Linked DNA regions of Homo sapiens: regions 1, 2, 4, 5 and 6 are each linked to region 3. The links are contacts of gene promoters, found by promoter capture Hi-C in human tissues and cell types (Jung and others, 2019). All regions are on one chromosome and are shown on one strand. The core of a region is centred on a gene start or on the middle of the fragment in contact, and the rest is flanking DNA. Distances in the headings are between cores, read along the strand shown. Region 1 overlaps WDR59 (WD repeat domain 59). Region 2 overlaps RFWD3 (ring finger and WD repeat domain 3). Region 3 holds the start of ZFP1 (ZFP1 zinc finger protein). Region 4 overlaps CHST6 (carbohydrate sulfotransferase 6). Region 5 has its middle 34 kb from the start of FA2H. Region 6 overlaps CFDP1 (craniofacial development protein 1).

Region 1 (4,552 bases), core at 632-3,131, 270 kb before region 3:
CGCTATGATCCGGTATACACCTGTGCACACATGTGCTGCACACACGTAAACAAGTTACACAAAACATTTTCCTTAGCTATGTATGGTACATTGTGATCATTTTTCTCTTACACCATTTCATTTTTTTAAATGCTGGTTTTCCGCACTAGATCAATGTCACAATCCACTAATGGGTCCTGACCTGGAGTTTGAAACACATGAATATGCAATGCTCTCCCATTATGAGACATGTCCTAGTCCCTAAGCTAATCTACTTGGAACTGTAAAATTCTAAGAAACAGAAATAGATATTTCAGTAGAAATAATAAAAAAGATTTCTTTTCACTGGCACATACAAAATGTGAAGTTGAAAATCATTCTGAAATTAGCCAGGCATGGTGGTGCACACCTGTAGTCCCAGCTACTCGGGAGGCTGAGGTGGGAGGATCACTTGAGCTCAGGTGATAGAGGCTACAGTGAGCTATGATTGCATCACCACTCTCCAGTCTGGGTGACAGAGTGAGACCCTGTCTCTCTCTCTAAAAAAAAAAAAAAAAAATTTAACTTTAAAAAAGAAAATCATTCTGAAGAATTGGTGGACACAGATGTTATAACTACTCAGAACACAGGCAAACACAGGCAGTTTGCGAGGGAGCCTAAAGGAAGAGTGAGGGCACTCACTGGAACCCAGCCCATCTGAACAGAGGCAAGGAAGACTTTGGTTTATTGACAGGGTCTCACTCTGTTGCCCAGGCTGGAGTGCAGCGGTGCAATCAAGGCTCACTGCAGCCTCAACCTCCTGGACTCAAGTGATCCTCCCACCTCGGCCCCTCAAGTAGCTGGGACCACAGGCATGTGCCACCACACCCGGCTATTTTTTTAATTTTTTTTTTCTTTTTTTGAGACAGAGTCTCACTCTTGTCACCCAGGCTGGAGTGCAATGGCATAATCTCAGCTCGCTGCAACCTCTGCTTCCCAAGTTCAAGCGATTCTCCTGTCTCAGCCTCCCCAGTACCTGGGATTACAGGCGCCCGCCACCATGCCCGGCTAATTTTTCTATTTTTAGTAGAGATGGGGTTTCACCATGTTGGCCAGGCTAGTCTCGAACTCCTGACCTCAGGTAATCCTCCCACCTCAGCCTCCCAAAGTGCTGGGATTACAGGCATGAGCCACCGTGCCCGGCCTATTTTTTAAATTTTTTGCAGAGATGGGATCTCCTTATGTTGCCCAGGCTGGTCTCGAACTCCTGAGCTCAGGTGATCCCCTCACTTTTGCCTTCTAAAGTGTGGGATTACAGGCATGAGCCATGGGGCCTGGCCAGGGAGACTTTTCTATCCATGCTGCACGGCAATCTTGTCCTCCTTTTGCTAGAAGAAATAAGACTCTTGGGGCTAGGAAGAACCTTAAATGTCAAATTCCATTTTCTCTTGTCAGATGACAAAAGTAAATCAGCATTTCCTTTAAAAATCGGAGCACTGACTTTGGTCCTATTCAAAATAGCTACCTTCAATTAGAATTAGGGTAAAAAATGATTCACCATAATGTTGTTTAACTTTCTCTCTTTTTTTTTTTTTTCAAATTACTAGAATTTTATTAGCCAAGGGATAGCAGCTGGAGGAGAAATAACAAAAAAATACATCTTAAGAATCCTTAAGTACAGTGCATATTTACAATTTAAGTGTCATATTTTAGAAGGCCACTGTCCATCAGCTCAGTAAATGTACCAGCTTCTAAAGCCATGATGCCATAGGTCCATTTGTTGATGAAATTCCTACCCACTGTCCTCGGGCATCTGACTCTGGTCTCTGCACTGGCATCAAGAGAACGCTGCTCGGTGGTTTAAGGCTAACACCTTACAGGGTAACACTGTAACACTGGCCCTGGAGCCAGGTGCTTTTCTCCATGAAAACTTCCACCTTGGTAGCTCAGCCGACATAGACAACACACAAAGCGCAGCTCTGCACTTCTGTCCTTATCTTCACACAGTGACATCCACACCAGGTGGCCAAACAGAAGAGAAGGCAGAGGCCCACCAAGAGCTGATGCTGCGCAGTCCTTGGGGGATCATCCTCCGGTCTCACTGGGGACGAACCCAGGTTCTGGAGCCTCTCCCCTGACAGACAGCTTGTCACCGGCACTTATGGGTCCTCTGGGATTTCAGACAATACCCAACTTCTGTAGGTTCAGAAAGTGCTTTCAAGCAGGCAGTGGCACCCACACCCGGTGGGACACACCTCCTGGGTCCGAAACCACTCCATCATGTGGCTGGTGTGGCCACCGTGCCCACAGGTCAGGCAGAAATTGGACGATCCCCGCACAGCCACGTGACAGATGGCACACTGGAACGTGAAGCCTTTGCAGATGGCACACTGCGTGCCACGGACCTCACTCCGGCAGTGGCTGCAGTACACGCCGAACTCTGGAAATGGGCAGGGACGGGCAAAACAAGAGGCAGCATGAGTTTAGTTCTGAAAAAGGAAACTGGGGCTTGCCAGGAAGAAGGAAGTCTTCCTCTCAAGACTCTAGCAGATTCTCTTAGACCAGTGGTTTTCATTTTCTGTTTTTTTTATTTTTATTTTTTCTTTTTGAGACAGAGTTTCACTCTTGTCACCCAGGCTCGAGTGCAATGGTGCAATCTTGGCTCACTGCAACCTTCACAGCCCGGATTCAAGTGTCCTGCCTCAGCCTCCCGAGTAGCTGGAATTACAGGCACCTGCCACCACGCCCAGCTAAGTTTGTATTTTTAGTAGAGACGGGGTTTCGCCATGTTGGCCAGGCTGGTCTCGAACTCCTGACCTCAGGTGATCCACCTGCCTTGGCCTCCCAAAGTGCTGGGATTATAGGCGTGAGCCACTGTGCCCAGCCTGTTTTTTTTTGTTTTTTTTACACCAGAACTCCTTCTTCTGAGCCACTGCACCCAGCTGCTGAGTACTGTATTTTCTCAGGGGCTCCGCATGGAAACCCAGTGCCCTACAGCAGGGGGCAGCTGCGTCTGATGCCTCTTCCCACCCCGACGGCTGGCAGGGCCTGGCACGCAGGAGGTGTTGAACAGGTATCAGCTGAAAGAACTGAATGACTCAGCAGTAACACTTCAGCAGAGGGCAGACTGGCTTTACCAACGCCTGCTACTGCCCACTCGCCACTGGCCCAAGTCAGGACACCGGGATGCCGCTCCACCGCCGGGCGGGGACTGGTTCCACTGGGCTACCCTGAGTAAAACCTGCTCTATCTACTCTGCTGGCAATAGTCCCCTCATCACCTGACCCTCCTGCCTCTGCTGGCTTTTGGATGAAAGGCCATTTCTTGCTTAAGTCCTCTGACTGCAGGGGCAGTGGGTGGGGACTGTGTCCCATCGCTGCCTCCAGACTGACCTTTCTGCTGGAGGCCAATGTCATCCAGCTTCACCAGCCTTTCCCCCTTTTCTCTGTGTCATCTGAGGACATTCTGGAGACACACCCCCACTCACTGAAGACTTGTTCTTGGCTCTCAATTTTCTCTCTACCCCAGTTCTTAGATGATCCTGGAGGTCTCCCAAACCTACACCACTAACCCAGTGCCCACCCGGCCATTCAGGTCTTTGCCCTCATCCCTAACCCATCACCACTAACCCTTCAGTCCACCTGCCCCTTTCTAGCTGCAATTTGCCCTTTGGCCAACCTGAATTACATGGACTCACTTTATAATCACTTATTTTGCAAATGCCTTCAATTCCTTTGCCCATCTCCTGCACCACCTGGCAAAACCTCTACCCTGGATGACCCATATCACCTGCCCACTCCATGCCTGCCCACAAGAGGCTGAGCAATCCTGGAGAAAGGCCCATGTTCAAGAAATGCATCTCACTTCATACACGCGATCACCAACGGACACAACACCTAGCCCTGCGCGGAGCCTGTGTTTCCCTTCTGTCCCCGAGATGGTGACTTCGGGCCTCCACCACGTTCTGCAAACTCTTCCCTCATGCCTTTTCTCCCGGCTCCTGCACCTGCCAGCCTCGTCTCTCACTTCCCTTCGTCGTTACACCACGCATCTTCCAATCTCCCACCTCTCCTTCCCTCTTACAACAGAGGGAGGGTCCTTTCTTCTAGCAGAACTGGCTGCTCTGTTGAATGACAACTGGTGGTCAGAAAAAAAAGGCCAATAAAAACTCCTCTGATATGTGGTACCTAAGGGCATATTTTATGATAGTTCCAATTAAGGCAAATCTTGAGACAAATCAGACTGGTTTGAAAATTTTGGTTTAAAAATAGCTATGTCTTCTCCCTCTAAGCATAATTTTTTATATTATGTACAAACTTTGGTTATGTTCTCATGAAAAGCCTAATTAGTTGAAAACTCTCAAATTTTCATTACTGGTTTTATTGGCCAACATTATGAGAATGTAAATATTGTGTGTTCAGGTAAATTTAATTCTAATGTTTAAAAGGGTTTGTTCCTTGGTACTTGAGATAACTGTAAACTTAATTATTCTCCATATCTATCTGGGTAAAATTATTAAAATGTCATCTCACAGTATCATTAATAATTGTGTTTCTCTACAGTGAATCGGATTAAATATAGTTTTCAAGATCCT
Region 2 (4,351 bases), core at 306-2,805, 490 kb before region 3:
ACCACTTTTTAGTATCATCTCAATATTTTCACAGTGTTAGAAAACATCGGCATGGTTGCGTATGCCTGTAGTCCCAGTTAATCATCAAGAGGCTGAGGTAGGAAGATCGCCTAAGCCTGGGGAGGTCGAGGCTGCAGTGAGCTGTGATTGCACCACTGCACTCCAGCCTGGGGAGCACAGTGAGACCCTGTCTCAAAAATAACAATAATAAAAACAAGAAGAAAGAGAAAACAAAGGGATTTCGTCGAAGCTTCCTCCATCTGCCTATGTAGAAAACAGGGCAGATCCAGGCTCCAATATCAGTGCTAACTCCTCTATTCTATAGTTATGAGACCCTGAACAAAGCCCTCTCTGAGCGGAGATCGCACCACTGCGCTCCAGCCTGGGCGACAGAGTGAGACTCCATCTCAAAACAAAACAAAACCAAAAACAGACAGGTTTAATTAGTTAGGTGTGGTGGCACGCGCCTGTAATGCCAGGTACTGGGGAAGCTGAGGCAGGAGAATCGCTTGAATCTGGGAGATGGAGGTTGCAGTGAGCAAAGATTGTGCCACGGGAATCCAGCCTGGACGACAGAGTGAGACGCTGTCTCAAAAACAAAAACAAAAAACCAAAAAACGGACAGGGTATAGGCAATTGTTATTCTTCATAATAACCCTGTCAAGACTTGACAGCTAAGCCCTTCAAGAGGCAAGTTCAAACCAAGACTATGAAAGAAAATTAATTAATTGTGCCCCCAGGTGGAATGCCAGTGAATAATGAATTTGGGTGAGTAGAGACTTGCAAGTGAAGAAAGAATTTTTGGTGTACAAGACACAATCTGAACAACAGCCAATCTCTACAGAGATTGCCAACAAACTACCACCTAGTTTTCAAGGCACAACAGTTTAACTTATCCCTTCATTACTTTGTGAAGTAAGGCAAGCACTTTTATTTCCACCTATGAGGAACTGGGGGTCAGAAGTTACCTGACTTGCCAAAAGTCACACTGTCAGTCCTTGAATGGCAGAGCCTCAGTTTCATAATTTCTAGTACAGCAATGATCACAGACTTATCCATATATTTATTTACCTGGCACTGTCTGTCCTCTGAGACCCTCCGGCTCTTGCCCTCCGTGAAGCAGATACCCTCCTTCTTGTTCTCATTGGCCCTACACTGTGGTTTGAAGATGAAGGTCTCAGGAATTCCAGCATGCCATGAAGTCTCTGCAGTCCGCTGATGAAGTTGGTCATTGAATGCAACGAAGATGCTGGGATGGTGTGATTACCATCAGATCCCTGCCTATGTTGTTCTGAAGTTCTTGGATTGATGTTCTCCACAGTGTCTTCTCCCAAGACCTCCACTTCTGTCAGGTCAACAGACAGTTGCGGAGCAGGCTGGAGCAGGGGTGGTGTCGCTTGGCTGCTGATCACCTCAGCAGGAGCTGGCTGGAGGATGGATGGTACCCCCTGGCTGCTGACCACATCAGCAGGAACAGGCTGGAGGAGGGCTGGTCCCCCTTGGCTGCTGGCCATGCCAGCAGGAGCTGGCTGTTGTTCGGCATGATTTAACTGCACCTGAACATCATATTCCATTGCTTCATGAGCCATCACTAGAGAAACAGTATTTGTAAAAAGTATTAATAAAATAGATAAAACATGCTATGTAGGTGACAGAATCATATTTAATCTTTCTGATTTTATGTTTAATATCATTCTTAGCAAGACTGAGAAGCTTCAAGAGAAGATTTTAACTACTTAAGTCAGAAGTGTTTGGTAATGGACTTTCCTCTCTATAACAAGCATTTATAACCAGTTTTCCGGTTTGCCCTTAGAAAACATGAAGTCCTGTGATCATAGTAGTATCTTCCAAAATAGAAAGATCTATAAACCAAGGAGATTAAACTACTGGGTCTAAAAGTAATCTCTCAGACACTTTGCAGTTCTCTCAAGCTGAATATGGACATTCACCAAAATCAAATGCATATAATGCAGTATCTAATTTTAGCAGGCAATATTAATCTTTCACAGCATCAACAGTTACAAGGGATAAATAGAGAAAGGACATTTTTTACACTTGCAAAATTAACTGTTACTAACTCAAAATGGAAACTTACCTAATGTTTCCAAAAAGGCTGAGCAAACTTTATCCTATCCCTTTCATTATTTTTGTTTTCCATCTCTAATTCCATCATGTTAGCGTATTCAACAAATATTTATTAAGCACCTATGTTCTTTTCATGTTTCCTATCTTTAATTCCATTGTATCAGTTTGAAAACTACCACCTAGTTTTTAAACTAAAAAAAAAAATTTTTTTTTGTTATATAGATGAAGGCTTCCTATGTTGCCCAAACTGGTCTTGAATGCCTGGCCTTACCTCCTCATGCATCAGGACAACAGGACTGAGCCACTGTGCCTCCCTACCACCTAGTTTTTAAAGTACATCAGTATAACTTATCCCCTTAATTACTTTGTGAAGTAAGGCACGTGCTTTTATTTTCATCTGACTTATGAGGAAATGGGGGTTCAACTAATAGTTATTAAGCACCTGTTATGCAGACAAGACACCCTAGAGGCAAAAACAGATAAGACCCCATGTATCAGAGTTTAGATTCTAGCAAGTAAGATGTCAATAAACAAATACATGAAAAAAATTATAGATTATGATGTTTGGGGTTGAGGAGACAAAGAGGACCAACTAAGACACAATTGTGAGGGAAGTACTCTTTTAAAGAGTGAAAATTGGGCTGAGGCATGAAGGATTAAAAGCAGCTGGCTATGCAAAGAGCCAAGAAGAGTCTCAGAAGGAAATCAGTGCATAGGTCCCTGATGAGCATGGGTTTCACTGATGAACAGGACACCATTATTAAAGGGCCTATGGGCCTTGGTAAGGAGTTTCTTCTATGTTAGGAATGCACTGTAGGGGTGCAAGAGCATAAGCTAGGTGACCAGTGTAGAGGCTATTGTGGGAGTCCAGACCAGAGGTCAGAGAGACCTAGGCAAGAGTGGTAGCAGTGGAGATGAAAACAAACAGACAGCTTTAAGAATCTTCAGAATGGTCATGCTTCTTTTTTTTTTTTTTTGAGATGGAGTCTCGCTCTGTTGCCCAGGCTGGAGTGCAGTGGCGCGATCTCGGCTCACTGCAAGCTCCGCCTCCCGGGTTCACGCCATTCTCCTGCCTCAGCCTCCCGAGTAGCTGGGATTACAGGTGCCTGCCACCACGCCTGGCTAATTTTTTGTATTTTTAGTACAGCCGGGGTTTCACTGTGTTAGCCAGGATGGTCTCGATCCCCTGACCTGGTGATCTGCCAGCCTCAGCCTCCCAAAGTGCTCGGATTATAGGCATGAGCCACCGCGCCCGGCCAATACTCATGTTTCTTAAAATCATCAAAGCAGATTAAACCACCTGAGGAACAGAATGACAGAAGAGGGCTGAAGACTAAAGTCAGAGACACTACTGTTAAAAGTACAACAGAGTAAAAGAAGCCAGTTAAGGAAGATTATAAAGTAGGAGGAAACATGGGAATGTGGTGTCTTGGAAAAACAATGTTTCAAGGAAGGAACAATTGAGTGTCAAGTGCTACTGGGGGGAAGAACGGCCGCTAGATTTGGCAACATGAGGATGACAGGTGACCTAAAAAAGCAGTTTCCCTGAAGTGGTGGGGTCAGAGGCCAGACTGGTGCAGGCTGAATAAATGGAAGGAATTCTAATAAACATAGTGGACGAAGTACATATATGTATCTTTCTCTCTCCACTCCAGTCATTCCTAAAACCCACGAACATGACCCCCACAACCTGAGACATTTTTTTAAGAAAGGATAAATTAACCAGGACGACACAAATGCAAACAGGGTATGATATGCAAACCAGTTTTTTAAGGCCATAAAGGAGAAACTGATGATTGATGACTGCTTAGCAGAGCCAAAAGATAAAACTCAAAGCCTGCAAAGGGCACAGTGGTTGGGGTGAGGTGTGTTATTGAGAAGCAAGCTGATTCCCACTAAAGGGACTGTAAAAACCAGGTACCACAAAAGGCAATATTGAAAGATGGCGCTAAAAGAGAAGGGCTGGTTAAAAGCCAGTAAAGCAGTTAGCTTGACTCCTACTCAAACACCAGCCAGCTAAAACAAAACACAGAACAAAGCCCTTCTCCCCCTATGCACGAGAAAACTGGAGGTTTGAACCACACAGGCTTACACTCAGGATGGAGAGTGGCACAGTACTGAAAATAAGTGGGAAAGAAAGTCTGCAAACTGAACAATGTGAGATACTTCAAGTTTTAAACATTTTTTGTATAGATGGGGTTTCCCACGTTGCCTAGGCTGGTCTTCAACTCCTCGGCTCAAGCAACCCTTCTGCCTCAGCCTCCCA
Region 3 (4,047 bases), core at 4-2,503:
GTGCCAATGATTTTGTTTTTTAATTTATACTTTTTGAGACAGGGTCACCCAAGCTGGAGTGCAGTGGCACAATCTTGGCTCACTGAAACCTCAGCCTCCCAGGCTCAAGTGATCCTCCCACCTCAGCCTCCCGAGTAGCTGGGACTACAGGTGCGTGCCACCATGCCCGGCTAATTTTTGTATTTTTTTTTTTTTTTTAAGAGATGAGGTTTCACCATTTTGGCCAGGCTGGTTTCAAATTCCTCGGCTCAAGCAATCTGCTTGCCTCAGGCTCCCAAAGTGCTAGGATTACAGGTGTGAGCCACTGAGCCTGGCCAGGTGCTGATATTTAACTGTAGGTTCACCAATTGTAACAAATACACTGTTCTGGTGTGGGATATCAACTTTGGGGAGGTTGTGTGTGCTGGGGGGACATGGGTTATATGGGAATTCAATGTATTTTCTGCTCAAATTTTGCTGTGAACCTAAAACTGTTCTAAAGGATGAAAGGAACTGAGGGTGAAGGGAAATGGGAAGATGGTGGTCAAGGGGTACAAAGTCTCAGTTATGCAAGATGAGTAGTTCTGGGGAGATGCACAGCTATGTGACGATAGTTGACAATATTGTGTACTTGAAATTTGCTAAGAAGATAGATCTTAAGTGTTCTCATCAGACAAATAACTATGTGAGGTGATGCACATGTTAATTAGCTTGATTATGGTGAATATTTCACAAATGTAGATATCAAGTTGTACATCTTAAATATATAGATCTCAACAAATATATATACCTCAACAAAGTGGCCTGGGAAAAAAGGGAAAAAAGCTAGTTGCAGCACATGATACCTTTATGGCCAGTTTTGTAACAACAACAAAAAAATCAAAGTGCGAACTTAATGTTATACGCAGTTAATCTTTAGAAAGTGAGATTATGGATACTTTATTTTGTACATATATTCTAATTAAATACAGTTATAGATTATTTGTGTAATGTTTAAAAGCCAAGTTGTTGTATTTAAGGGGGAGGTGGTGAATTGTAGTTCACGACCCACTCTGGGAAAAAAGAAAACAGTGCAGGCTAAGGAGATTATTTTGGTCGGCTCATCAGACCGCCTAACAAGGCGAAGACTTTCCTGAGAGTCCCTAAAGCCGCGGCCCCGGAGGCTTGTGGGAAATGTAGTCCCGAACGTGGATGGTCCACCCCTCCGAGGACCCTGGGAACGGCCCGCGCCCCTGTTTCTGCGCATGTGCAGTGCTGCGAGCGCGCCGGTGGCCGCCCTTCCCCCACCACCAGCGGCGAGTGGGTGACAGAGCCCCCGTCTCCGCGCGTCTTCGCCGCCCTGCGCCGTGACCCGCTGTGGCACTGGGCCACGAGTGGAGGCTGCGCCCCTCCAGGTACGAGAGGGGCTTCCAGGTAGCTCCGCGCGGCCTGGGGCCGAGGGGAAGGAGATGAGGGATGGGCTCGTGCCCGCGCAGGGTGGGAGCCCAAACTTCGGCTACTCGTAGGCGGCAGTGACCCTCAGGGCGGCGTCCGGGGTTGCCCGGCGCTCGCCTCTGAACGGGGCCGGCGGGGCACGCCTGGCCGAACGTGCGGGGGCGGGGACGGCGGAGGGAAGGGCGGCTATGAGGCTTCGCCTTCTTCTCTTTGTCAGGAGATGCGCCTCAGACGGGCGGCGAAGGGCTCGGGCCGCGCGGGAGCGAGTTCTGGAGCCCCGGCGGGCGCGCGCGCGCGGGACGAGGCCCCGCCGGGGCGTGGTGGGGGCGTGGCCTGACACACCTGGCCACGCCCCGATGCCCGGTGCCTCGTGGGTGGAGGAAGGACTGGAGCCTGGTCAGTTGCCGGTGGTGAAGGAGAACCGTGATCCCTTTGTCAGAGGGTCTTCAGTGAGGTGTTCCCCTGATCCTCGCATCCACCCCGTGACTTCCAGCGTTATCATCTCCGTCGCTATCCCAGGAACACGGGAGGTTCAGAAGGGGAAAGTGATTTCCCTAAGGTCTCACAACCCGGTGGTACTTTATGTGAGCAGCAGATATTTTTTCATTTATCTTTTGATTTTACTCGCTGGTAGATTTTGCCATGTATACGTTTTGACGTTTTAAATTTCTCTCGGGTGGAATTTACTGTTCTTTCCGTTTGGGGCACCCAAAATTCTTCACTACTTTGAAATACGAAAGTTTTCCCATGATTCTGGTGCAGTCACGCTCTGCGTAACAGTGTTTCTGTCAACGAGGGACCTCATGTAAAATGGTGGTCCTATGTGATTGTAATACTATATTTTTGTATTGTACCGTTTCTTTTCTTTACTTTCTTTTTTTTTTTTTTTTTTTTGAGACGGAGTCTCGCTCTGTCGTCCAGGCTGGAGTGCAGTGGCTTGATCTCGGCTCACTGCAACCTCCGCCTCCTGGGTTAAAGTAGTGCTCTGCCTCAGCCTCCCGAGTAGCTGGGATTACAGGCGTGAGCCACCGCGTCCGGCCAGACACAATTTATTGATGTAACTGTTCCTCTAAATACTACTTTAACTACATCACTCAAATTTTTATATCTTGTATTTTCTTTTCTGTTGTTGTTGTTTTTGAGACTGAGTCTCACTCTGTCACCCAGGCTGGAGTGCAGTGGCACTCAGCTCACTGAAACCTCTGCCTCCCGGGTTCAAGCAGTCCTCCTGGCTGGGATTACAGGCACCCGCCACTACACCTGGCTGATTTTTGTATTTTTAGTAGAGACGGGGTTTCACCATGTTGGCCCGGCTGCTCTAGAACTCTTGACCTCAAGTGATTCTCCCGCCTTGGCTTCCCAAAGTGCTGGGATTACAGGCATGAACCACTGCACCCAGCCTTTTTATTGTGTTTTCATTACCATTCAATTCAAATTTTTTTAACTTCCCTTGTGACTTCATTTTTTACCCTTATTTATTTAGATTGTATTGCATAATTTCCAAGTTTTTGGAGATTTTCCAGATCTTTTTTTTTTTTTTTTTGAGACAGAGTCTCGCTCTGTTGCCCAGTCTGGAGTGCAGTAGCGAGATCTCGGCTCACTGCAAGCTCCGCCTACCAGGTTCACACCATTCTCCTGCCTCAGCCTCCAGAGTAGCTGGGACTACAGGCGCCCGCCACTACACCTGGCTAATTTTTTTATTTTTTTTTGTATTTTTAGTAGAGACGGGGTTTCACCGTGTTAGCCAGGATGGTCTCTATCTCCTGACCTGGTGATCCACCTGCCTCGGCCTTGCAAAGTGCTGGGATCACAGGCGTGAGCCATCGCACCCGGCCCAGATCTTTTTATATTATTGATTTATAGTTTAATTCTGATTTGGTCAGAATACTGTGTTACGAATTTCAATTATTTTAAATTTGTTGTGGTTTGTTTTTGTATTGTATTTTTGTTTCATTTTGTTTTAGTAGACTCCTGGTCTCAAGTGATCCGCTGACCTTGGCCTCCCAAAGTGCTTTACAGGCGTGAGCCACTGCACCAGGCCTGTTGTAGTTTGTTTTAAGGTCGAGGATATGATGATCTCTCTGGGTAACTGTTTCGTGTGTATTTGAATAAATATTGTGCTGTTGATCGTAGAATCTTCCTTGATTGATTGATTGATTGAGACAGGGTCTGTCTCTGTTGCCCAAGCTGGAGTGCAGTGGTTCAGTCACAGCTGTCTGCAACCTCAAACCTTTTGCCTCAGCCTCCCGAGTAGCTAGGACTGCAGGTGTGCGCCCTAATCCTTTTGCCTCAGCCTCCGGAGTAGCTAGGACTCAAGGTGTGAGCCACCACACTCAGCTAATTTTCTGTATTTTTTGTAGAGACGAGGTTTTGCCATGTTGCCCAGGCTGGTCTCAAACCCCTGGGCTCAAGCAGTCCACCCACCTTTGCCTCCCAAAGTGCTGGGTTTACAGGCATGAGCTACTGTGCCTGACCCTCTTTTTCCATTCTTTTATCTTTTTTTTTTTTAATTTCCTGACTCCTACAACTGATCATCCTTTTACTTTGAATGTAGCTATGTTTTTATATTTTAAACAAACTGCTTATAGACAGCACATGGTTTGGTCTTACTTTTTTTATATAATTTGACCTCTG
Region 4 (4,658 bases), core at 899-3,398, 320 kb after region 3:
TTAACCATGCTGTCTTTTTGGTACATTTCCCAGACTAGCAGAGTCTATTAGAAGTGGAAGAAACCGCTGGGCGTGGTGGCTCATGCCTGTAATCCCAGCACTTTGGGAGGCTGCGGCGGGTGGATCACGAGGTCAGGAGTTTGAGACCAACCTGACCAACATGGTGAAACCCCGTCTTTACTAAAAATACAAAAATTAGCCGGGCATGGTGGCATGTGCCTGTAATCCCAGCTACTCAGGAGGCTGAGGCAGGAGAATTGCTTGAACCTGGGAGGTGGAGGTTGCGGTGAGCCGAGATCGCACCATTGCACTCCAACCTGGGCGACAGAGCAAGACTCTGTCTCAAAAAAAAAAAAAAAAAAAGAAAAAGGGCCAGGTGTGGTAGGTCACACCTGTAATCCCAGCACTTTGGGAGGCCGAGGCAGGCAGATCACGAGGTCAGGAGTTCCAGAACAGCCTGACCAACATGGTGAAACCCCATCTCTACTAAAAATACAAAAATTAGCCGGGCCTGGTGGCATGCGCCTGTAATCCCAGCTACTTGGGAGGCTGAGACAGGAGAATTACTTGAACCCGGGAGGCAGAGGTTGCAGGAGCCGAGATCGTGCCATTGCACTCCAGTCTGGGCAACAAAATGAGACTCTGTCTCAAAAAAAAAAAAAAAAAAAAAAAATCAGCTGGGCGTGGTGGTGGGCGCCTGTAATCCCAGCTACCGGAGAGGCTGAGGCAGGAGAATGGCGTGAACCCGGGAGGTGGAGCTTGCAGTGAGCAGAGATCGCGCCACTGCACTCCAGCCTGGGCAACAGAGCGAGACTCCGTCTCAAAAAAAAAAAAAAAAAAAAGTGGAAGAAATCAATTATTGTAGGGTTACATAATCAATTATGTATTACATTAGGAAACATTATTTTGAATTTAGAATTCGATCTTTAGTTCATTTATGAATTGACAGGTTAAAAAAAGACATTTAGCCTTGCAGGACTCAGAAAATGGAGGTTTCCTGGGCCCTGTCTAAGGAAGCCAAGGAGGCGGTCCAGCACACCAGACCCCCTGGCCCCTTGCTGCTCTTTCAACAAGCCAGATGCCTCCCCTCCTTAGGGCTTTTGTGTTAGCTCTTTCCTGCTCCCAGACAGGCTACCCATGATTGCCCTTAACATACTCCCTCACCTCCTGTAAGACTTTCCTCAAATGTCGCTTTCTCACTGAGACCTACCCTGATCACCCCATTAAAAATTACAACTCACACCTCTACACACATATATTCCTCATCCCCCGATCCTTCTCTACTTTAATCCTTGGCACTTTCTAATATGCTAAATAATGTAGCCATTTATTAAGCTTATTCATCAGCTATCTCCCCACCATCAGAATGCAAGTTCCTGAAGGGCAGGGTTGTTGTTGTTGTTGTTTGAGAGAGTCACACTCTATCGCCCAGGCTGGAGTGCAGTGGCGCGATCTCAGCTCACTGCAACCTCCGCCTCCCAGGTTTAAGCGATTCTCCTGCCTCAGCCTCCTGATTAGCTGGGATTACAAGCGTGCACCACCACCACCACGCCTGGCTAATTTTTGTATTTTTAGTAGAGATGGGGTTTCACCATGTTGGCCAGGCTGGTCTCGAACTCCTGACCTCATGATCTGCCTGCCTCGGCCTCCCAAAGTGCTGGGATTACAGGCGTGAGCCACTGCGCCTGGCTGGTTTTTGTTTTGTTTTGTTTTGTTTTGTTTGTTTTTGAGATGGAGTCTCGCTCTGTCGCCCAGGTTGGAGTCCTTTGGCGCCATCTCGGCTCAATTCAACCTCCGCCTCCCGGGTTCAAGCAATTCTCCTGCCTCAGCCTCCTGAGTAGCTGGGACTACAGGTGCATGCCACGATGCCCAGCTAATTTTTATATTTTTAGTAGAGACTGGGTTTCACCATATGGGTCAGGCTGGTCTTGAACTCCTGACCTCAGGTGATCCACCTGCCTCGGCCTCACTAAGGGCTGAGATTAGAGGTGTGAACCACTGCACCCAGCCTAGGGCAGGGGTTTTTGCTTTTTGTCTGTTTTTGGTCCTGCTGTATCTCCAGCTCCTATAATAGCCCAGTGCCTGGTTGGTGCTCAACCCATAATGTGTGTTGAATGAATGAGTGGAGTTCTTGAGGACTGGGAGCAGAATAACACAAGACTTGCAGGACAGGCCAGGTTTTCTGGTCTTACTCCCAAAGGAGAAAATGCTCGATTGGCTGGAATGAATTGCCATCTTGGAAAAATGGATAGTAGGCCAATCCTTTCCATTTCATCAAGACTTTAGCTCTGGTTCTTTCGTTTTTTGTTTGTTTGAGACAGAGTCTCGCTCTATTACCCAGGCTGGAGTGCAGTGGGGCGATCTTGGCTCACTGCAACCTCTACCTCCTGGGTTCAAGCAATTCTCATGCCTCAGCCTCCCAAGTAGCTGGAATTTCAGGCACATACCACCACGCTTGGCTACGTTTTTGTATTTTTTTTAGTAGGGACAGGGTTTCGCCAAGTTGCCCAGGCTGGTCTCGAACTCCTGAGCTCACGCAATCTGCCCACCTTGGCCTCCCAAATTGCTAGCATTACAGCTGCACCCAGCCTAGCTCTGGTTCTTAAGGAACATGGTCTGAATAGAGTCATTCACAGAATAAGGATTTGCACTGTGAGAGGATATTTAAATTGTAAGAGAATCTGCTGGGGGCAGGTGGTGCTTAAATCTAAATCCATTAACTTGTGAAGGTAGTCGGGATAACCCACTGGACCTCAGCATAGGGGTCACTCGACCTAAAGAAATTGCTCGCCTGATCCACTGGTGTGGAGTGGGCCTGTGGGTGAGGGACAGATTCCAGCCCATGGTGGTTTCAGTGTGTGATGAGTGAGATCATTCAGTAGAGGGCGCTGGGAGAACTGATGACTCGCACCGATCAGGAATATTGCATGCAATTTAGATCCAAGCGTAAAACACTAGACTACTAAAGTACTGGAAGCAAGCGTGAAGACCATTTTTATCACTGTAGCAGGACAAAGTCGTTTCAACAAGACATAAAATCCACTGGCCATAAGGAAAGGATTCACATTCAACAATATGATAAACTAGGTGAAACTTTTTGAAATTTGATTGTGATGAGGTGGTGATTTGATTTCACAGGTATATACAAATGTTTAATCAAACTTTACACTTTATGTGCAGATGTTGTATATCAATTATAGCTCAATGAAGCTTCTTTTTTTTTAAGAAGCCTGAGGGGAAAATGCCATAAAGTAAGTTAACAAAACAACAACAACAAAAAACAGATGACAAGCTAGGAGAAACCATTTGCACAACAAAAATAACAAAGCATATTCAAAAGAGGCTGTGGTAAGTCAACAGCAACATGGGCACAGCCTTGAACAATGAAAAAGGAATACAGTTGAGTCATAAGCATGAAAAGATGTTCAGCTGCCCCAGGAATTAAAGAAGTGCAGACTGAAACATCAAGTAACATTTTTCACCCATCAGGTAGGCAAAAATTAAAACCATTGATTTAACCCTGTAGAGGTGATGGGGCAGTTGTGGCAGTGGTGGGGCGCAGTCTGTAGGAGTGGGTGACAAAGGCACATCAAAGACAAAGCTAGGGGACACAGGGTCTGTGGTGGCCATGAGGAGTTGATACAGTGTTGATGTGGATAATATATCTTCTTGATGCAAAATAACAAAAATAAGGCCCACCATTGATTCCCCAACAGCCTCTTGATAGGTGGGTTCTCTGACCTATTCCAGGCAACACTGTTTCTATGCACCCATCAGCCCATCTAGTGCTTTGATTGCCCCTTCTGAGCTCCCACAGCCAGAGCAGAGGCAGCAAGCGTGCCTGCCCCTAATTGTGGGTGACTGCTGGGCCTAGACACTTCTAGCTGCATCACAGGGCCTACAGGTAAGGGGAGACACTAATTACAGCCCTACCAGCAGGGAGGGAGCCTGGACCCTGGTGGAAATTGGAAGCTGCAGGTGCCAGGAGCCCTCCGTTCTCAAGTGTATCGGTTAGGCAATGCTACGTAACAAACCACCACAACACTCAAATGACTGAAACACAATAAGCACTTTTATTGCTCCTAAAGTCTTCGACTTGGCCGCAGTGCTGGGCTCAGCTGGCCTCGCTCATATGTCTTTATAGCTACTCTTCTCAAGTGGTGGACTCAGTTTCCCCACCTCTGAATCTGGGTGAGCCCTGGGACTCCCTTTGGCCAGTAGAAGGTAGCCGAAGTGGCTGCGTGCGGATCAGCTGGAGCTGGCTGGTCTAGGATGGCCTGGTTTGGGACCCCTGAACTCTCCTTCTCATGGTCTCTGCTTGTCCAGCAGGCTGGCCTGGGCTTTCTCCCGGGCAGAGGCGGAGGTCCGAAGCAAAGGAGCAGCACGCAGGTTCTCTTCAGGTGGAGGAAAGCAGAGGCGTCAGCTCAGACTATGCCTTTTTCACATAAAAAATGATTTTCAGCTGAAGGCAATTAAGAAGCAGAAAGTGCAGGAAAAGTTCAGGTTTCCCTCCCCTTTTCTGCCTAAAGGCACGATATAAACTCTCCATCACTGGACACAACCCTTGACTCAGAGGTGGTACCAGAGGCTGCTGCAGACAAATCCTGTTGCATCAGCTTCCTCTCGGATATTTACCATCCCATAGTTTACCACCTTTG
Region 5 (4,700 bases), core at 1,838-4,337, 340 kb before region 3:
TATGAAAGGAAAATAAATCTTGGGGCCCCCAAATCACTAAACTAAAGGGAAAAGTCAAGCTGGGAACTGCTTAGGGCAAACTTGCCTCCCATTGTATTCAAATCATCCGTCTGCTCACTGAGATAAATGCATATCTGATTGCCTCCTTTCGAGAGGCTAATCAGAAACTCAAAAGAATGCAACTGTTTGTCTCTCACCTACCTGTGACCTGGAAGTCCCCTCCCTGCTTCGAGTTGCCCTGCCTTTCTGGATGGAACCAATGTGCATTTTATATATATTGATTGAGGTCTCATGTCTCCCTAAAATATATAAAACCAAGCTATGCCCCAACCACCTTAGCCACATGTCAGGACCTCCTGAGGCTGTGCCATGGGCACATGTTCTCAACCTTGGCAAAATAAACTTTTTAAATTAACTAAGACCTGTCTCAGATATTTGGGGTTAACATTTATGGTAACCACAAAGGAATTCTGAGTGGAGATGCCCCTGACCTTTGACAAATCTCCTATTGGTGCTTGGTATCAGCTTGAGCTATCTTTATGGCTCAAACCAATAGGACAATTTGCTGAGGCCTGGAAGTGTTATGAGATCTTTGGGGTGTTGATTTTTCTTTCCAGAAACCTCTGTGGCTGGTGACGCTTTTGCCCGAGTTTTTGTCCTGCATCCAGGAAGAATGAGGTATGCAGAGAAGTGAATGGTGATGAAGATGAAGAAGAATTTTATTTAGTGTTAGAATGGCTCAGAAGAGACCGGAAGTGGGTAGCTCCTCTCTGTAGGCAGGTCATCCCATGGAGTGTTCAGCTGTCAGCAAAGAGGAGGCCCTGGAGGGGGTAGCTCTTCTCTGCCCACTGGTCATCCTGCTGTCTGCTGTTCTCAGCAGAGAGGAGGCTCTGAAGAGGGTGGCTCCTCTTTGTAGGCAGGTTGTTCAGATGTCTCTGCAGGCCTCTGAAGCTCTCAGCAAAGAGGATAGCTCCTCTCTGCAGGTAGTTATCCCCTTCCTCTCTCTGTCCTCTGGTCTTTGCCCTGCTGTGGCCGAGCCCAGGGCTTTTATGGACCTGAGCGGGGAGGAAATGCATGCCAATTGGTGGATGCGCAGCCATGGGCAGGCCCAGAGGAGGCGCTTCAAGTCCCTACTCTGGTCTGTGTGACTGGCAGCCTGCCCCCAGCTGTCAGGCCCTCCCTGGTCTGAAGGTGGGACCTTACTGGGGATCCGCCTGCTTCTGCCCAGGACTCTGCCTCCCGCTGCCATTCAAGGCCCCAGGGCTCTGCTCCAACCCTGCTCCAAGACCAGTGCCCTCCCCAGGAGAGGAGAGAGGCCAGGCAATGGGAGTAAACACCCGCCAAGACAGCAGGGAGCACAGGAGGGTGGGCCTCCTTCCTGATCCATAGAACAGGAAGGCCTAGGTCTGCAGTTTGGGTGGCTGCAGCGGCACCCAAGGAGCTCCTGCCCCAACTCAGAAGGAGCGGGGTTCCCATGGGCTCCATGGAGTGTGCAGCCCCAGCCAGCCTCCCTCCTGCAGCCACTTAGAAGCACCTCCTCCAGAGAATCCCTGATCTCCCAAAATTTGGTCAAGATCTAAACTTTATTTTTCTGTACAACTCCTTTTTTTTTTTTTTTTTTTTTTGGAGTTTTACTTGCTTTTAACACAAGGAAGGCAAGTTTTTCCTGTTTCCATGACAATGGACGGCAGGTAATTCCTTTATGGAGTTTGAACTCGCTCCCAACAGGGAAGACGAGTTTGAGTTTTTCCTGCTTCTAGGATGGTAGAGAGCAGGCTTTGGCCTGAGACCCATCCCTACGTAAATAACTGAATTGGGGTTTGCCTTGGCTAAAGTTAAAATTAACAACCAGCTGGTCTTAATTTCTCCTTACCATTAGAGCGCTCAGCAATCATGTAAGTTGTGCAATCGTTTGTTTCGCTTAACTTTTTCTGTTGTTTGTTTGTTTTTTTGTTTCTTTTGTTGTTGTTTCAGTCTTTTTCCTATCAGGTTTGACCAACTCTATCCAACTTGATCATATCTGAAGGAAAGTTCCAAATTATGGGGAACAAGGCCTTTGAAGTGGCTAAATTCCCCCACCCACAATAAAAGGTGGTGTGGTGGGGGGAGAAAAGTGGCCAGCAAAAGGGGAAAAAAGGGAAAGATTTTTTAATTTTGACTACTTAAGGCTTTCTTTATTTACATAACAAGGCCTAAAGGAAATGTTTTCTTCCAACATAATATTCTGTGCACTGCAGAAGGTCTTTTCTTTGGCCTTTTGATAACTGGCCTAACAGATTTCATGTCTTATCAAATAATTCTTATCCCATTATTATTAAGTTTTGGTTTGCTTAGAAAAAACAGATCAAAAATTTTTTTCAATTAAGGTTATTACCTCCATGTATTTTTCTGTATGTGCTTTTAAAGTCCTTGTAACATTGAGTTGCTGGGCTTTGACTCCTGGGTCTAAAAAGGACACCAAATCCTGCTAACTCTTAAACACTGACAGCAATTAAAGCTTCGTATTCAGGTCTGATAGAAGATGCCAATCAAAATAAACTGCATTCCTAAGACACAGGGCCAGAAATTAAAGCTATTCAACTCCTCAAGGTCCAGGGAGTATCACAGAAGAGGCAGGTGCATGAGATTGTAAGGGCCAATTTTGAGAGATAAAGGAAGTTCAGTTTCTCTATAAATTAACCATTAATGTCAAAGGCATACTGATGCAAGACCAGCACATGAGGCCCTGTGTCAGATTAACAAGGTTTTCTTGAAGTATTAACCAACTCCTTATTAAAGGTTATAAAGGCTATAAAAAGACTTATGGAAGTTATATGTTATGGTCAAAATTAACATTTTAGAGATTGTTTAAAAATTTTGAAAAACAAATTTAATTGGCTTCATGCTATTTTTATTAGGGCTTATTGTTTGGAAAATTAAGTCTCCTCTCTCAAAGAATGAAGGTTGTCACCTTTTTAGAAAACCCTTGAGTTATCACTTTGGTTAAATGAATCACTTATTTTACAATGAACTGTGATCCTATTTTGTGATATCAAGTGTTTTAAACCTTTGATATTTGACAAACTTTTCAAAATAAAATTACACGTCTTTTTATGACCTAATTAATCTTTTTAGATATTAGGTTCCCTAAAGCCCAAAAATGACATATTTGGCCTATTTGGTATAAAAATTATACAGGAAGCATTGTCAAACATGAAATGGTTTGGTTTTCTTTGGGCTATATTTGTATAAATATGTTATTGGTATGTGTTCCAAAATTATGGGAACTCCTATAATTCTGATATGACTTAGTGTACATAGTTAGTAGTAATAATAATAATTGTTATGTTAAATTTTTGTGTGCCACAGAGGTAACAGATTTCCTTGTCAATTGTGTCTTTGACTATAGCTGCCCTAAAACATTTTGTCATCCATGGACAATTGTTGTCTTGTTTTGGTTCTCTTTAGAAGGTGGTTTTATAATCTACTATAAAACTCTAATAGGGGCTCCTGAATGGAGGTTTCTGATAATTTTGGAGATGGTGACATCAGAATAGAGGAAAAACTTTCAGGACTCATGGAGAGCTGAAATGTTCATGAATTTCAAGCAGAACAGGAATTAACTACAAAGACTGAAATAATAGATGACTGAAGTAATCTTTTTGACTTTTTGCTTAAAATGTTACTGATCTTTCAATTTTCAGAGTCAAGGAAACTTTTCTTTTGTGCTATTGACAGCTTTTAACAACTAAGTATACTCCTACCAACAAAATTTGGAGTATATTTGTTTCTCTCCACCTGATTTCTCCAGAATTTGGAAACTATTTTAAGTATTCTTAACTTACGGCTATATAGTTATTTGCATAAGTGCAATAAGAATCTGTTTTCATTTGTAACAGGACATGACTGGAGCAACTGGTTATTTTACCAAGTTTTGACTGGAATGGTTTACTTTCCTTTAAGGAATCAAAGTTGTCTTTTAGAGCCAATAAAAGCCCCTTGGGAAAACTGGCCTCATACCTTATCTACACAGTCCCTGTACACGGTTCTTGACCTGTGATAAGAAATGAATGTCACTTTCTGACTGGCCTGGGAACCCCAAGTTATCTTGAGACCTCAAGGGGAGAGGAATTCACCCAACTCATAGGTATTTGATGGTACAAATCCATGGCTGGGCTTGGCTTTAAAAAAGTCATATCTGAGATTCCTTCTATGGAACAAAGTTCCATCAAAGCCAATTTAAAAAGCCTATGTGAAGAATAATTATTCTAGCTGCACTTTATACAAATAATTTGGCCAAGTATAATAAAGCAAATTGGTCCTACCATGATTTGTCATGATTTTTAGTAAAAATGGGAAACTGGAGAGAGAAAAATTGTTTCAAAAACTAAAGTACACCTGTTGTTAGATTCTAGTCTTGCCTAATGTTTTTCTGTTTTTATTATTTTCTACAGACTGGACTGAATTCTAACTTTTCCTGGCTACAAGTCTCCAAAATAATGTTTTCATTTTTTTCTTTCTTTTCCTTTTCCCTACATTTTTCCTAATTTGAAATCACTGAAAACTAAGCTATGCTTTCTTAAAGCCCTGCAAACTGAAACTAGACAACTTAAACTTCAAAAGAAAATAACAGCAACCTTTTACATACATAAGCCACTTTTATACCTGCCTACTGATGTATGGACTACAGAGTAAGGTGGTCTATATCAGTTTTGCAGGAT
Region 6 (4,320 bases), core at 1,612-4,111, 260 kb after region 3:
ACCAAGTAATATTACAGATTACTCTTCATTGACAGTATGCCTAGAACAACTCCACTTTTAACAAGCAATAAGGGATTCAAGTATCAAAATATCTTCAAGCAGGAGAACAGTTAAATTATAGACCACCTCTAACGCACAAGAGGGAACTCTGACAGGAAAAGGCCTATTATTAGTAATAGTTAATTCAAGTGTTCTCAACAGAAATTCCATTTTAACTTTATTTTCACTTGCTCAGAACTTCCTGAAAGTCTTTAATTGGGCAGAAACTTTCCATGACTGGCTTTTTCCAAAAGGTGAATCATTTAGGAAAGTCTGAGCTAACTGGCTCAGCTGGTTATGTGATAGGGCAGAATACAAAATACTATATTCCCCCATTCCCCTAGGTTAATAAGCTAAACATTTTTCAAGTAGGGACAAAAACAAAATGAAATGATCAAAGCCCAAAATTTAACATTAAAATACAGTTAGAAAACTGAAGACTAACTTTGTGCTAACACTACCTTACACTTAGACCTACAAATTCCTTCCTGTCATCACCAGCTCTTCTCACATTTCTTGAAGATGTAGTAATGCTCTTAACTTGATACAGAGAGAAAAAGGAGAATAATGACATGAAGAAATTAAAAGATATGCTCAAATCCATACAACAAATTTGTATCTGTTATCAATGAAAATTCAGATCTCGTAAGTCCCCTTATGAGAATTCCTTATAATGCCTAAATTTAAGTATAAATAAATTAAGTTTAAAAAAATCCTGTCAACATGCCCACTATTAACAGGGTTTTTGTTTTCTTTAGGGGAAGGGAGTTACAGAACTTTCACTTTTCATGTTATATATATTATATATCTCTGTAACATGATTTTTAAAGTAATAAGCATGTATCATTTTGAAATATAAAATGTATGTGACAGTATGTAATTCATATGAAAAAAGGGCTTCCATACTCATTTCTTTGTTTTGTTTTTTATAGACATGGTGCTGCCCTCTTCTGACAAATTGAGAAAACAGCAGACGCCCTGAATACCCATCAAGGACATTTAAAATTACCATCCACTTGTTTTCAAAAATGAAATAGGAAATTTGCAGCACACAACTATAATAGTATTTACTAACAAGTCCACAACACTTAATTTGACCGAAAATTTATGACTTTTTTTGAGACAGGGTCTCACTCTGTCACCCAGGCTGGAGTTCAGTGGCACGATCTCAGCACACAGCAACCTCTGCCTCCTGGTCTCAAGGGACACTCCTACTTCAGCCTCCTGAGTAGCTGGGACTACAGACACACACCACAATGACTGGCTAATTTTTATATTTTTTGTAGAAATGGAGTTTCTCCATGTTGCCCAGGCTGGTCTTCAACTCCAGTACTCAAGCAGTCCTCCTGCCTCAGCCTCCCAAAGTGCCGGGATTACAGGCATGTGCCACTGCGCCTGGCCTAATGACTTCTTACAGCAACAGTTATTTACCAGCTTTTTGTACACTCTATGTGAGGGCCACTAGTGAAGTTATAAATAAATCTTTCTTAGTCTGCATAACACATAGAAAATAATTCAAGCCAAAAAAGACTTCAAAAAACTTTTAAACCTATATTCCTAACGGTACATTAACATACTTTCTATATTATTTTTATAGGACTTTCAAACTATTAAAAGTTTATACTGTCAGCGTTCTGCTGGTCCCCTACTGGATGTACAACTCAACAGCTTCCAGAATAATTTCAGGCAGTAAAATATATTACTAATTCATATCATCAATAATTATTTATGGGGCCAGGCATGGTGGCTCACACCTGTAATCCCAGCACTTTGGGAGGCCGAAGTGGGCGTATCATTTGAGGTCAGGAGTTGGAGACCAGCCTGGCCAACATGATGAAACCCTGTCTTTACTAAAAATAAAAAACTTGGCCGGGTGCAGTGGCAGGTGCCTGTAATCCCAGCTACTCGGGAGGCTAAGGCAGGAGAATCGCTTGAACCCAGGAGGCGGAGGTTGCAGTGAGCTGAGATCGCACCACTGCACTCCAGCCTGGGCAACAGAGTAAGACCGTGTCTCAAAATAATAATAGTAATTATTATTATTATTTATGGAACCCGAAAACAACTAATTACCAAGGAAAAGGTTGCCTTACAATGAAGAATTCTGGAAGGTACTGTCATTTTTCTTTTTTTTTTTTTGAGACGGAGTCTTGCTCTGTTGCCCAGGCTGGAGTGCAGTGGCACGATCTCGGCTCACTGCAAGCTCCGCCTCCCGGGTTCACGCCATTGTCCTGCCTCAGCCTCCTACAGGCACCCGCCACTGCACCCAGCTAATTTTTTGTATTTTTAGTAGAGAACGGGTTTCACCGTGTTAGCCAGGATGGTCTCGATCTCCTGACCCCATGATCCGCCTGCCTCGGCCTCCCAAAGTGCTGGGAATACAGGCATGAGCCACCGCGCCCGGCCGCAAAGGTACTGTCTTAAGATACTGGTGGCCTAACTTATCCCCATCAATGCTGAGTCTCTTGATGGATGAGAAGCACCATCAATGTAGTATTTTTGTCTAACATAATTAATGTGAAGCTCATCATAAACAATGCAGCAATCCAAATTGAGGGACATTATGCAATACAAATGGCCTGGACTCTTAAAAAAAAAAAAGCTTAAAACCAATGCTGTGAAATACAGAAAAGGCATGAAAAACAGTTCTAAGTACAAGGAGTTTAAAAAGACCAAATGCAAAATCAACAGCAACAACAAAAGACCAATTATGGTTTTCATCTTAGATTGGATCTTAGAGGTGGCTCCATAGCACAACGGATAGCGCGCTGGACTTCTAGACTGGATTTTAGATTGAACAAGAAATACAGCTATAAAGTACATTATTGGGATAACTGGGGAAAAACTGAATGGAATCATTTGTATATAGTGCTATTCAAGTTTTGACTGCAAAACTACCTGTTATTGGTCCAAGATGAGATGGGCACAGAAATTGTGAGTATTTAGAAACTTGTTCAGCAATTTGACAATGTCACAATACTCAAGACATGAGCAGTGGGCCCTTCCATTAAACAGAGTATAAATTCAGTTAGGCCAGATTTGCAAGGTGAGTCACATGTGATATGAATTATCAGTCACACGCAGTAGGACATTACAATGTGTGTGATACTTCAGAATTATCTTGTCAACTAAAGCCCAAAAATGTAATAAAATGTAAGCATTTATTTTTATAACTTATTTTTACAATCATTTTAATTGTTACTCAATTGTAATTTTTAAAATTTATACAGGTGCCAGGCATGATGACTCATGTCTGTAATCCCAACACTTTGGGAGGCCAAGCAGGCAGATGCTTGAGCCCAGGAGTTTGACACCAGGCTGGATAAACCCATCTATACAAAAAACACAAGAGGCCTGGTGTGGTGGCTCATGCCTGTAATCCTAGCACTTTGGGAGGCTGAGGCGGGCAGATCATATGAGGTCAGGAGTTCCAGACCAGCCTGACCAACAAGGTGAAACCTCGTCTCTACTAAAAATACAAAAAAAATTTAGCCAGGCATGGTGGTGCGTGCCTGTAGTCCAGCTACTCAGGAAGCTGAGGCAGGAGAACTGCTTGAACCAAGGAGGTAAAGTTGCAGTGAGCTGAGATTGTGTCATTGCACTCCAGCCTGGGTGACAGAGTGAGACTCCATCTCAAAAAAAAAAAAAAAACAAATGAGCCAGGCGTGGTGGTATGCACCTGCAGTCCTAGCTGCTAAGGAGGCTGAGGTGAGAGGACTGCCTGAGCCCAGGAGGCAGGGACTGCAGTGAGCCAAGACTGCGCCACTGCACTCCAGCCTGGGTGACAGAGCAAAACCCCGTCTCCAAAAAAAAAAAGAAAAAAGAAAAAAAAAATTTATGTAGATGGTCAGACATGGTGGCTCACACCTGTAATCCCAGCACTTTGGGAGGCCAAAGCAGGAGGATCACTTGAGGACAAGAGGTCAGGACCACCTTGGGCAACACAGCAAGACCCCATCTCTACAAAAAAATAAAATAGGCCAGGTGCAGTGGCTCATACCTGTAATCCCAACACTTTGGGAGGCTAAGGCAGGAGGATCACTTGAGCCCAGGAGTTCAAGACCAGCCTAAGCAACATAGGGAGACCTCGTCTCTAAAAAAATAAAAACGAATTAGCTAGGCATGGGTGACCAATGCCTATATTCCCAGGTATCAGGGAGGCTGAGGTGAAAGGATTTCTTCAGCCTGGGAGATCATGGCTGTAGTGGGCCATGAGGGAGCCACTACACTCCAGCCTGGGCAACAGAGTGAGACCCTGTCTCAAAAAAATTAAATAAATAAAAT

Evidence for each region. The method cuts DNA at HindIII sites, captures the fragments that hold promoters and counts their contacts. A contact is called where the count stands out against the background at its distance.
Region 1: a fragment that was not itself captured here is called in contact with the fragment with the promoter of ZFP1 in region 3 in 1 of the 25 tissues and cell types used here (thymus).
Region 2: a contact is called between a fragment that was not itself captured here and the fragment with the promoter of ZFP1 in region 3, in 1 of the 25 tissues and cell types used here (mesendoderm cells).
Region 4: a fragment that was not itself captured here is called in contact with the fragment with the promoter of ZFP1 in region 3 in 3 of the 25 tissues and cell types used here (dorsolateral prefrontal cortex, small bowel and spleen).
Region 5: a contact is called between a fragment that was not itself captured here and the fragment with the promoter of ZFP1 in region 3, in 1 of the 25 tissues and cell types used here (IMR-90 fibroblasts).
Region 6: a fragment that was not itself captured here is called in contact with the fragment with the promoter of ZFP1 in region 3 in 1 of the 25 tissues and cell types used here (IMR-90 fibroblasts).

What each region holds. Positions count from the first base shown.
Region 1 is chr16:74,872,047-74,876,598 of GRCh38, forward strand. It overlaps WDR59 (WD repeat domain 59), which reads right to left. Exons shown (of 26, transcript NM_030581.4): 26 at 1-2,398. The coding sequence ends at 2,163. Among named protein-coding and RNA genes, the nearest start is that of FA2H, 100 kb to the left of the region's middle. RefSeq lists enhancers at 2,179-2,904, 3,633-4,358. The HindIII fragment of the contact is 8,452 bases long and covers 1-4,552 here.
Region 2 is chr16:74,659,861-74,664,211 of GRCh38, forward strand. RFWD3 (ring finger and WD repeat domain 3) reads right to left here. Exons shown (of 13, transcript NM_018124.4): 2 at 1,072-1,591. The coding sequence starts at 1,589. Among named protein-coding and RNA genes, the nearest start is that of RFWD3, 4.8 kb to the right of the region's middle. The HindIII fragment of the contact is 6,343 bases long and covers 1-4,351 here.
Region 3 is chr16:75,147,271-75,151,317 of GRCh38, forward strand. It overlaps ZFP1 (ZFP1 zinc finger protein), which reads left to right and starts at 1,254. Exons shown (of 4, transcript NM_153688.4): 1 at 1,254-1,373. RefSeq lists an enhancer at 1,065-1,114 and a silencer at 1,475-1,844. The HindIII fragment of the contact is 27,656 bases long and covers 1-4,047 here.
Region 4 is chr16:75,469,074-75,473,731 of GRCh38, forward strand. CHST6 (carbohydrate sulfotransferase 6) reads right to left here. Exons shown (of 3, transcript NM_021615.5): 3 at 2,979-4,658. Among named protein-coding and RNA genes, the nearest start is that of TMEM170A, 6.7 kb to the left of the region's middle. RefSeq lists an enhancer at 2,576-3,218. The HindIII fragment of the contact is 5,677 bases long and covers 1-4,658 here.
Region 5 is chr16:74,806,330-74,811,029 of GRCh38, forward strand. No RefSeq gene overlaps it. Among named protein-coding and RNA genes, the nearest start is that of FA2H, 34 kb to the left of the region's middle. The HindIII fragment of the contact is 7,167 bases long and covers 1-4,700 here.
Region 6 is chr16:75,402,079-75,406,398 of GRCh38, forward strand. All of the region lies in intron 4 of CFDP1 (craniofacial development protein 1), which reads right to left. Among named protein-coding and RNA genes, the nearest start is that of CFDP1, 29 kb to the right of the region's middle. The HindIII fragment of the contact is 7,226 bases long and covers 1-4,320 here.